Regions from separate parts of the Homo sapiens genome. Here region 2 is linked to region 1. Evidence: promoter capture Hi-C in 16 types of primary human blood cells and fetal thymus (Javierre and others, 2016). All regions are on one chromosome and are shown on one strand. The core of a region is centred on a gene start or on the middle of the fragment in contact, and the rest is flanking DNA. Distances in the headings are between cores, read along the strand shown.

Region 1 (3,927 bases), core at 1,156-3,655:
CCTGGCTGGGATCCTGTAACAGGCTGGGGAACACCCAACTTCCCAGCTTTGCTGAAGACTCTACTCAACCCCTGACCCTTTCCTATCAGGAGAGATGGCTTGTCCCCTGCCCTGAAGCTGGCAGTTCAGTCCCTTATTCTGCCCTGTTGGAAGCCCTGCTGAACCCTCAACTATTGACTGCTGCAGACAGCTTATCTCCCTAACCCTGAAATGCTGTGAGCTTGACTTGACTCCCAACCCTACCATGCTCCATCATACTCAGGTCTCCCTACTCCTGCCTTAGATTCCTCAATAAGATGCTGTAACTAGCATTTTTTGAATGCCTCTCCCTCCGCATCTCATCTTTCTCTTTTCAATCAGGCTTTTCCAAAGGGTTGTATACAGACTCTGTGCACTATTTCACTTGATATTCATTCCCCAATTCACTGCAAGGAGACCTCTACTGTCACCGTTTACTCTTTCCTACCCTGACATCCAGAAACAATGGCCTCCAGTGCATACTTCTCAATCTTTGCTTTATGGCCTTTCCATCATAGTTGCCCACTCCCTCTCCTTACTTAGCTTCCAGGTCTTAACTTCTCTGACTACTCTTGTCTTCCTCTCTCATCAATTTCTGCTTCTTCATGGAATGCTGACCTTCATTGCTCCATTTGTAGATTTTTGCTCTTCTCAGTTTACTCATTGTCCCCTGGAACAAATCACTGACATCTACAACCATTACCATCTCACTAAATAAGACTTTCTATCCAATAATGATTGATACCTCAAATGTAAGATGCGTGATACTCAACATTTCATCGTCCACCTTCCCAACCCCAAACAATTCCATCTCGTTTCTTCTTGGTAAATGATGCTATGCTTTTTCCAACCAAGCCAGAAACCTGTGTCATCTTTTCACCCCACCTTCAATCAACAAGTCCTCAATCAACAAGTCCTACTGACTGCACATCTTAAATATATCTTTATCAGTCCACAAGTCCTTCCAATTATATTTCCCAAGTATATCTAGAACTTATCCACTTATATCCCCACTGCTACTACCTTAGTTTAGGGCTATATTCTCTTGAAAAAAAGTGTCCTTACTTCCTGCCAATCCCCAAGTCATCTTCCAGAGTAAAATGCAAATCCCATCAGGCCACTTGGATGAAAACCCTTCAAGGATTACTGGATAGAATTCAGGCTTTCCCCTCCAGCCCCCAATCATAGCTCACAAACCTTCCTTGCTATTTGTTCTTAAGTAAAAAATCATTTTTCCTCCTCCCTCCCCAAACCCCAAGGAACTCTCACTCTTGCTCAAGCTGTTCCGTCCCCTTACCACCCCTGATACAACTGCCAGGTTAATTTCCAGAATTCTTGCAAGACTCAGTTCAGAAGTCACCTTCTTTCGTGAATGTTTTGATTCCCTGAGGCTACTTTATTTTGGTATGGCTGAAAAATCCTAGATTTTCTAAACAAAACCTGTTTGAATCTTGGTTCTGATATGGACTAGGAGAGAGACTGGGTCAAGTAAGCTTATCTCCCTGAGGCTGTTTCCTCGTCTGTTAAGTGTGAATATCAATACCTGCCTTTCATAATCACCAGGGAATAAAGTGGAATAATGTTGATAACAGTGCTTGGCACCTGGAAGTAGGTGGCAGATGTTAACGCCCTTCCTCCCTTGCACTGCGCCCCCTGTGCCTACCTCTAGCATTGTAACGACCACGTAGTATTGAAATGGCCAGTTTACTTGTCTGCCTTCCTTTCCAAGACCGTTGGTGCCTAGAGGACTAGAATCGTGTCCTATTTAACTTTGTGTTCCCAGGTCCTAGCTCAGGAGTTGGCAAATAAGAATTAAATGTCTGCTACACCGAAAACCTCACGCCTCTCATTCGTTGTGATTTTTGCATATGTTGTTGACTCAGGCTGAAACTCCTCCTCCTCCTACAGCAGCACTGTGTGCCGCCCCACTGCTGCCCCCACCTCTCGGGGCAGCTGGCGGAGAAGAGAGGGGGCTTTCCAAATCCACTATGAATCCTTAAAAGGCTGAATAAGGGAACTTGAAACGATGCAGACAGGCAGGCAACCCGTAGTCGAGGGACATAGGGCCATAAACGTCGAAGCCAGGTCTTGAGCGTCAGACAGAATGAGGTGTCCCAGAGCGGCGGAGGAGAGCCAGACGCACGCTGGTTCCGGTCTGGACGGAATCGCCGCGGAGCACGGCAGAGGCTAGGGCGGAATGGCTACGGCAGCGCAGTTCGCCAAGGCTCGGTCTCCGCCCTGCAGCCTATTTCCTCTAACCCGCAGATCCACTATGGGAGGAGGCGGGGAGCGGGCTGGAGAGCACTAACAGAGACAGGCGGGGCGAGTCGTGGGCGCGTGACGTCACCCCGGGGTGTGCGCGGCGCGAGCGGAAGCGGAAGCGGCTCTGTTCGCCGCCTCTCCCACCGGCCCGATGAGCTGCAGCGGCTCCGGCGCGGACCCCGAGGCGGCGCCGGCCTCCGCCGCCTCGGCCCCGGGCCCCGCGCCCCCGGTCTCGGCTCCCGCCGCGCTGCCCTCCAGCACCGCCGCGGAGAACAAGGCCAGCCCCGCGGGGACAGCGGGGGGACCTGGGGCTGGAGCAGCTGCTGGGGGCACGGGACCCTTGGCGGCGCGGGCCGGGGAGCCAGCTGAGCGGCGTGGGGCGGGTGAGGGCCGGGACGGGTGAGGGCGAGGGAAGCGTCTTGGGCTGGGTCCAGCGGCGGGTGAGGGCAGAGGGTATAGACAGACCTAGCTGGGGCCCTGCGCCTCCCACCTCTGTGTCTCATTTTGCTGGTTCTCCTCCAGCTCCGGTGTCGGCGGGTGGCGCGGCGCCCCCGGAGGGGGCCATATCTAACGGGGTTTACGTACTGCCGAGCGCGGCCAACGGAGACGTGAAGCCCGTGGTGTCCAGCACGCCTTTGGTGGACTTCTTGATGCAGCTGGAAGATTACACGCCTACGGTGGGCTTCCGCCCGAACAAGGCCACCTAGCCTGCTGTCAAAACTTTCAGCCACATCGTGCTTTTCAGCGTTCTCTTCCATTTGCTCCCCTAGTCGCTCTTCTGTGTTTGCCCTCTGCTCACCCAAACTGTGAGCTTCCTGATAATCAGGCCTATCCATTTCCCTCACCCTCCTCCCGCTCTGCTGACAGTTCTCTTAATTGATTTCTCAGATCCCAGATGCAGTGACTGGTTACTACCTGAACCGTGCTGGCTTTGAGGCCTCAGACCCACGCATGTGAGTAAACCCAGGGCAGGTTAGTTTTGGGTGCTTGTGCAGTATGTTGTCCATCTCCTTCTCATCTAAGTTTTTTCTCTCTAGAATTCGGCTCATCTCCTTAGCTGCCCAGAAATTCATCTCAGATATTGCCAATGATGCCCTACAGCACTGCAAAATGAAGGGCACGGCCTCCGGCAGCTCCCGGAGCAAGAGCAAGGTGTGAGGGGAGGCTTAATGAATCAGTAATTACCTTCCACAACAGTGGAGGCTTATCCTGCCACCCCTTTGGGGAAACTGAATCGTAGGGGAGGTGTAAGACTTACTCAGGGTCACCCATCTGGGATTGAAGTCCGGGATTCCTGTGCTCAGTTGGTGCTCTTCCCTCTTCCCTCAGGACCGCAAGTACACTCTAACCATGGAGGACTTGACCCCTGCCCTCAGCGAGTATGGCATCAATGTGAAGAAGCCGCACTACTTCACCTGAGCCACCCAACCTAAATGTACTTATCTGTCCCCATGTCCCCACACCAGCCTGTTTTCATAATAAACTTTATTGTGACAGGCGGGGCTGATCCCTCCCATGTTGGGAGACACCATGTGGCAAGTGACAAAGCTCTGAGCCCGCCCCTCTTGGGGCCACAGTGGTAGGGATGGGGGAAGGGGATGGACCCCATGGCTGGGGTAGTACCATGACTGGAGGCGGGGGAGGCAA
Region 2 (6,922 bases), core at 1,443-3,942, 160 kb after region 1:
ATGCATGCCTGGCTCCTGAATGTATGTAGTCTGTCTGGAGTCTCTGCAGTTATCAGGTTGGCTAGACAGTTGCATAGGGGTATCTTGGCCAAAGGGGGTATCTTTCAGTGGCTAGAAGTTGTAGCAGGTGGTCCTCCCACTGCCTCTCCCATAACCTCATACACCTGATTATGGCATCAACCGCACTGAATGAACATGGTTTCTGCTGCACTGTGAGCTCCTTTTCAAAGCCAGGAAATGTGCCTTTTTTTCCCTCTGTTTCTTGTAGTAAAAGCTCAGAGCCTAGTACAGTGGGCACCAGGGTAGTTGACACAGCAGAGCAGTTAAAAGCTCAGGCTCTGAAACCAGACACCTGAGCTTGAATCCTAGCTCTGTCACATACTAACAAGTCACATGACCTCTTTGAGCTTCAGTTAACTCATGTGTAAAATTAGGAAAAGTATATCTGATAGGGTTGCGGGGAGTGTTAAATGATGTACTATACTTGACATCTAGTGAAACTTCTGATGTTAGCTATTGTTAAAAATATCATCGTCCAGGTGGAGGCTGTAAACAAAGGCAAGCAGGTGGGAAAGTGCTGGAGGAGGTGGTTCAGGGAACTGGAAGGAGCCCAGCAGGCCTGGAGGTAGATTACTATTAGAAGCCAGGGGTAGCTGAGGTCAGATTGTAATTGGTTTTGGAGATGGAGTGTGGAATTTTGATTTTATCCTATAGGGGATTGTTTCTAACTACCATGCACTTTACTTCTTCGAAACATTTTACTGGGTAGCAAAACTTTTCGCTGAAGATCCTTACTTCTAAACACCTATACGTTTAAACTTCCTGACCCTGCTTGAGTACTCATGTCATCGATCCAGCTCTGCTAAGGTCCTTTCCCTCAGTGACGGCTACTCTCTGACCCCTGCTTTTCACCTAACAGTCTAAAAGTGCAAGGGACTCTTCTGTGGCCATATTCCCAGTTCTGTCCAGTCGTCCTTTACTCCTACCCTATTTCTAAGAGCAGAGGAATGGAGAGGCCCTGTGCAGCACAGGAAGGCATTTGGGCCCAGCCTGGATAGTGAGGAGGGGATTGCGGGGGAGTAATGAGGTGGTGCTCAGTTCCCTACTCAGTTACACCTTCCAGCTCCTTTCCAACTCCCTAGGCTGGGAATGCTTCCTGGCATAAAAGTTGAGATTTGGGACCCCTTCTCTGTTGTGCACACACACAGGTGTGCTCACTGCTCACATGCACAGAAAAACAAGTGCCACTTTGTCTGTCCTGGTGAGGGGGCTGAACTTCCTCATAGTTTTTTTTTTTTTTTTTGAGACAGGGTCTCTGTTGTCCAGGCTGGAGTACAGTGCTATGATCACAGCTCACTGCAGCCTTGACCTCCTGTGCTCAAGCAATCCTCCTACTTCAGCCTCCCGAGTAGCTGGGACTACAGGCGCATGCCACTATACCTGGCTAATTTATTTTATTTTATTTTTATTTTTAGTAAAGACGGGGTTTCACTATATTGTTTGGGCTGGTCTGGAACTCCTAGGCTCAAGCTATCCTCCTGCCTTGGCCTCTGAAAGTGCTGGGATTACAGGCATGAGCCACTGCACCTGGCCTCCCCATTGTTTCAGAGTGGGGAATTGAGAGGGAACACCTGGTATAGCTCCACTCTCTTCCAAACACCTGCTACTTCTATAGCAGTCCTCCTCTTGCTTCTACTTCCACCTGCCCTCTATGTCGCCACTGCTAGGAGCCTGGCTCAGATTTCTAAGTTGAATTTCTGCTTCTCTTACTCTGGAGTCCTTAGGGCTGGCATGGGCTGGGCTCCCTGATGAGGTCTGATCCCCCTCCTCCTCTCAGTACATGGGGATTGGGGTCCTCACGACATGACCGTTTTCTCTTTTGGACACTTCTATGGTGGAGGATGAGGCAGACCTCACTGAGTGGAACCAGCATCAGTTGACAGAAGACAAAAAACATTTTGTGATTCTGAATTAATAATTTGATTTGTATATATTATGTCCTTGTGTAATTGTCTAAGCTTCCAGTTTTATCAGCTCTTCTGTGAAAACTCCCTCATTCCCTTAGGCAGAATGTTAAATCACATTCTTCTCAGTTCCCTCAGCCTTTTGCTATAGTACTTTTCATACTTTACTGGAATCACTGGTTTGTTTTTGTTTTTGTCTGGTTTTGTTTTGTTTTATTTTGGTTTAAGTCTTTCTCCCCCACTAGACTGTGAGATCCCTGAAGTCAGGGATCTACTTTCAGATACCATGGTATAGGAGAGAGATGTTAAGGACCAAACTAGGACACCAGCAGATTCTAGAGATATTAAGGAAGCAAGAATGGCAGATTTTGCTAAATCGTCAAATGTCAAGAATGGCAGGACTTTGTGGACTGGGTAGATGGTGTTGCCATTCAGGAGCAGGCCCAGGTTTAAGTTGATGAATTCACTTTTGCAGATGTTTGAGATAGCTATGCGGCATTCAAGTGGAGATGTCCAGTTCAGGTCTGAGATTGAGCTGGGGAGTTCATTCATTTGTTGAATGCCTACTATGTGCCAAATGCCATATCAGTGCTGCAAGTGCAGCAGCAAACAAAACAGATGCAGTCCTTATGCCATGCGAGGCTTACATCCTTAGAAGGGGACACCGATATTTAACAGTTATTTAGCTGCAAAGTGATAATTGTTATGAAGAGAGCTGTAAAGCATATATCCTGGTGACCTAAGTTTATATGTGCATATTGATTTGGTAGGGCGGAGGGTGGTACTTGGTCATTAGTCTTCTCTGAAAAAGTGACCTGGAAATTCTAAGAATGGAAAGATGAGTAAGAGTTGGCCAGGTGTCAGGGGTGGGATAGGCTGGGACTGGAAGAACAAGACATCCCAAAGCCTCATCAGTATTGAGCCAGAACCTGAGCTGCTCAAACTGGAGGGGCATTACCTCACCGCTAAACTGTACCTTTTAGTGCCCCCTCACTTCTACTATTTAGCTCGTGGAGCTCATGGTATCTCCCTTCTCATACTGATGAGTGCTGTCCTGCCACAGGGGACCACTGCAGAACCCAAGAGCTGTGCTGGTCAGCCAGAGAAGAGCTTAGTAGAAGGTCCACATTAGAAGAAAGTGATGCCTGTTGGTGGGACCAGTTTAAACAGCCCTGCAGGACTAAGAGATGGAGTTGGGGTGGGGCCGGGGCGGGGAGACCAGTCCATTAAGGAAGGCACAGATTTGAATCCAAGAGCAAGGCCAATGCCCAGAACTTGAGTTCTCCAAGGCTGCTCCTGGCTCTCGTTCATCTTGTGTCCCCAGAGCCTATAACAAAGCAGAGTGTATGAGACTTATGTAGTGAGTAATGTTTTGACTATGAAGGAAAAGCCAGAAAGCTTAGCTAAAGTGGGAAGGAGGATTAAAGGAGGTGCTTTTGGGATGGGGAGACCTGAGCATATTGGGCAGCTAAATTAGAGGAGGTTGGAGAAGGGAGAGGTTGAAAGGTTCACTCTGTGTAGGAGGAAGGTTTCCTTGTCAGCCCCATAGCCTGAATGGACTAATTCTTGTATACTTTCTCCTCTCTCACCTACCCCATTCCAGTCTGCTACTAAGTCTCATGAGCCTACCTCCTACATATGTCTTGAGTCCATCTGCGTCCCTCCAGCCAATTTCCTTGGTCCAAGCCATCATCATTTCTCAACTGGAATACTGCAACAGCCTCTGACTGGGCAGCTAGCTTGTAGTCTTGACTTCTCCCTACAGCCAGAATGTTCTTTCTTAAAAGCAAAATTGATCTTGTCACTGCTATGCCTAGAAATGTTAAGAAACTCCTCATTACACCCAGGATAAAACATAATTCCTTCTTTTGTTCACCTGGGTGCTCCCTGCAGTCCAGCCACACTGGACAAGTCCTCAAGTGGTGCCCATACTGGACTTTGTGCCTTTTACAATCTGTTCACTCTGCTTGAATGCCTTTCCTCTTCCTTTCCTGGCCGAATTTGGTTTATGTGGCATCCTCATTAGGCTATTTGTTCAGACATCTTCTTCTCTTGGAGCCTTTTCTCACCATTCCCCTTCATCCCTTCATGTTCTCACAATCCCATTCATATCTCTGTTGCATTGCCCCAGACCTGCTGCCATGTTTGATTTTGTCAGTAAGTGCTTGTTGAATGACTGAATAAATGGTGGTGGGGGGGTCTCCTCCCTCAGGATCCTACTCCCTTCTGTCTGTGCCCACAGTGTCTCCCCTCCTACCTGCTCCCTCCCCTTGCTCCTCTGCTCCAGGTTTTCTCCAATGAGGGCCAGTTCAAGTTCCGTTTTGGGGTCCGAGGACGCTCACCTGGGCAGCTGCAGCGCCCCACAGGTGTGGCAGTGGACACCAATGGAGACATAATTGTGGCAGACTATGACAACCGTTGGGTCAGCATCTTCTCCCCTGAGGGCAAGTTCAAGGTGAGAGGCCTGCTGTCACTTTACTTACCCTGGTGTCCAGCTGAACTGACCAGTCTAGTGCCTCTTGGTGGTCAGGGTCTGGACTGATCCAATCCTACCTCCTCCTACTCCCTGTTCTTTCCCCAGCCCAAGATTCTGCTTTGGTACTGGGTTAGGACTACTTTCCCCACTGTCAGAATAAAGCCTCTTATGGATATTCTCTTCCTCCAGACCAAGATTGGAGCTGGCCGCCTCATGGGCCCCAAGGGAGTGGCCGTAGACCGGAATGGACATATCATTGTGGTCGACAACAAGTCTTGCTGCGTCTTTACCTTCCAGCCCAATGGCAAACTGGTTGGCCGTTTTGGGGGCCGTGGGGCCACTGACCGCCACTTTGCAGGTATAGGGGGACAGCTCCAAGATCTATGCTGATACCCCTGTTCCAGAGAACTCCCCTAGATACCCCAGCTGTAAAGGCCCTCTCCTCCTATATCTTGGCTCTGGAGATCCCACTTCCCTTACGTTAGCCCTATCATCTCAGAAATAATTTGTCTCAGTCCTGGAGACCCCACCCCTCTCCTAACACCCTAGCTTTTATCTTCCCAGATACTCTTCCCCATCCCACTCAGCATCCCAGCTTACTGCCCTGAAGACCACTTTGTATTTTCAGGGCCCCATTTTGTGGCTGTGAACAACAAGAATGAAATTGTAGTAACGGACTTCCATAACCATTCAGTGAAGGTCAGTGTCTTCCCTCCCTCCGTGACCACTGTCCCAACATCCTTTCCTCTTCCACAAGACTCCTCTCTATTTTACCTCCTCCTTTTCCCCTTTGAGATCATTCACTCAAACAATACACATTTACACATTTATGCATGGCTGCTTTGTCCCAGGCAGTATGCTAGAAGCTGGAGATACAGTGATGCACAAAGCAAATGTATTCTGTGTCTTCTTGATTATAGTCTAGTAGGGAAGAGAAAAAGGTAACCAAAAAATTACAATATGATGTAATAGATTCTGTGATAGGAAGGTGCAGGGAACTGTGGGAAGGGATACAGAAGTGTATGATTCAGGAAAGACTATATGAGGAGGACCTCAAGCACAAGTGGGAATTAAATGGAAGGCAGAGGAGGACGAGAGTGTTTGAGACAAAAGACACAGGAAGAGCCAAGAATGCAAGGTGGGAACCTTAATAGTGTGTTCGAGAAATCACAAGTAGTTCAGACTCAGCTTGAGGAGGGGACCGTGAAAGCTGAGAGTGAGGCTTGTGTGCCCCCTTAAGGGGCTTGCTCTCCTCCCAAGAGCTATGGGGAGTCACAGGATTGCAGGCAGGGGAGTGATGCAGTCCTGTGTGTCTTAGATCACTCAGGCTGAGGCAAGACTGAGACAGGAAGATCAATCTTTTGCAGTGATCCAGATGAGAAATGATGTGAGCCTGGACCGTGAGAAAGACGAGACAGTGTATGCATAGGGTATAGACTTGAGAGAGGGATTTGAGATGGAATCAAGAGTTGTGTTAATTCATTGGCCTATCAAACAGAGAAGAAATTGGAGTCAAGAGTGACTCATGGCCAGCTGGGTGGCACCAGTCATTGAGATAGAGAACTAAGAGAACTGATTTCCCAAAGAAAATGAGCTGTTAGATTTGATATTCCCAATGGACATCAGCAAGAGATGTCTACTAGGCAGTAGGGCACATGGATGTGAAGCCTATGAAGCAGATTTGGGCTGTAGCTGTAGATCTGGGTGGGGGTTCTCAGCCCTGGGGCTTCACCCTATCCTCCTCCAAAGCCCTACCCTCTGCCTGAGGCCAGGTCCCCAGTCCCTAGCCCCTTCCCCCGCCAGGTGTACAGTGCCGATGGAGAGTTCCTCTTCAAGTTTGGCTCCCATGGCGAGGGCAATGGGCAGTTCAATGCCCCCACAGGAGTAGCTGTGGACTCCAATGGAAACATCATTGTGGCTGACTGGGGCAACAGCCGCATCCAGGTGAGTAAGGCCTGGGAATGACATGAGGGGGCGGTTTCCTGGTGTGTCCCATATGCCCGTTCCCCCAAAACAGACTCTCATCTGCCTGATCTTGCCTCTCCCTCCTTTCTGCACTCCTTCCCCAGGTATTCGACAGCTCTGGCTCCTTCCTGTCCTATATCAACACATCTGCAGAACCACTGTATGGTCCACAGGGCCTGGCACTGACCTCGGATGGCCATGTGGTGGTGGCTGATGCTGGCAACCACTGCTTTAAAGCCTATCGCTACCTCCAGTAGCTGTACAGAGGCCCTGCCTGGCTTGTGGAGGGACAGACATTGGGGTGATTGGACAAGAGGGTCTGGCTGGGAGGTGGGCCAGACCTGGCAGCACTGAATGTGGGCTGTGGGCATGGGTGCACCCGGTGCCCTCCCTCTCCTACCCCCACCCCCACGGTTGCACTTTATTTATTCGGTTCTTGCTTTGGTGACTGGGTGAGCCTGGACTGTGGTCCCAAGGATGTGTGCAGAGCTTCACCCTACCCTTCTTACACACCTCC

The links. The method cuts DNA at HindIII sites, captures the fragments that hold promoters and counts their contacts. A CHiCAGO score of 5 or more calls a contact.
Region 2: a contact is called between a fragment that was not itself captured here and the fragment with the promoter of TAF10 in region 1, in 1 of 17 cell types (non-activated CD4 T cells). The highest score is 5.8, in non-activated CD4 T cells.

What each region holds. Positions count from the first base shown.
Region 1 is chr11:6,610,694-6,614,620 of GRCh38, reverse strand. It overlaps TAF10 (TATA-box binding protein associated factor 10), which reads left to right and starts at 2,405. Exons shown (of 5, transcript NM_006284.4): 1 at 2,405-2,663; 2 at 2,803-2,957; 3 at 3,169-3,233; 4 at 3,318-3,432; 5 at 3,610-3,927. The coding sequence starts at 2,432. The coding sequence ends at 3,699. TPP1 (tripeptidyl peptidase 1) reads left to right here. Exons shown (of 13, transcript NM_000391.4): 13 at 1-1,853. The coding sequence ends at 75. ILK (integrin linked kinase) reads right to left here. Exons shown (of 13, transcript NM_004517.4): 13 at 3,751-3,927. RefSeq lists enhancers at 1,929-1,978, 2,029-2,158, 2,614-3,201, 3,202-3,790 and silencers at 2,449-2,548, 2,559-2,758. The HindIII fragment of the contact is 6,165 bases long and covers 1,514-3,927 here.
Region 2 is chr11:6,448,768-6,455,689 of GRCh38, reverse strand. It overlaps TRIM3 (tripartite motif containing 3), which reads left to right. Exons shown (of 12, transcript NM_033278.4): 8 at 4,252-4,419; 9 at 4,630-4,798; 10 at 5,069-5,139; 11 at 6,244-6,384; 12 at 6,510-6,922. The coding sequence ends at 6,662. Among named protein-coding and RNA genes, the nearest start is that of HPX, 11 kb to the right of the region's middle. The HindIII fragment of the contact is 1,344 bases long and covers 2,021-3,364 here.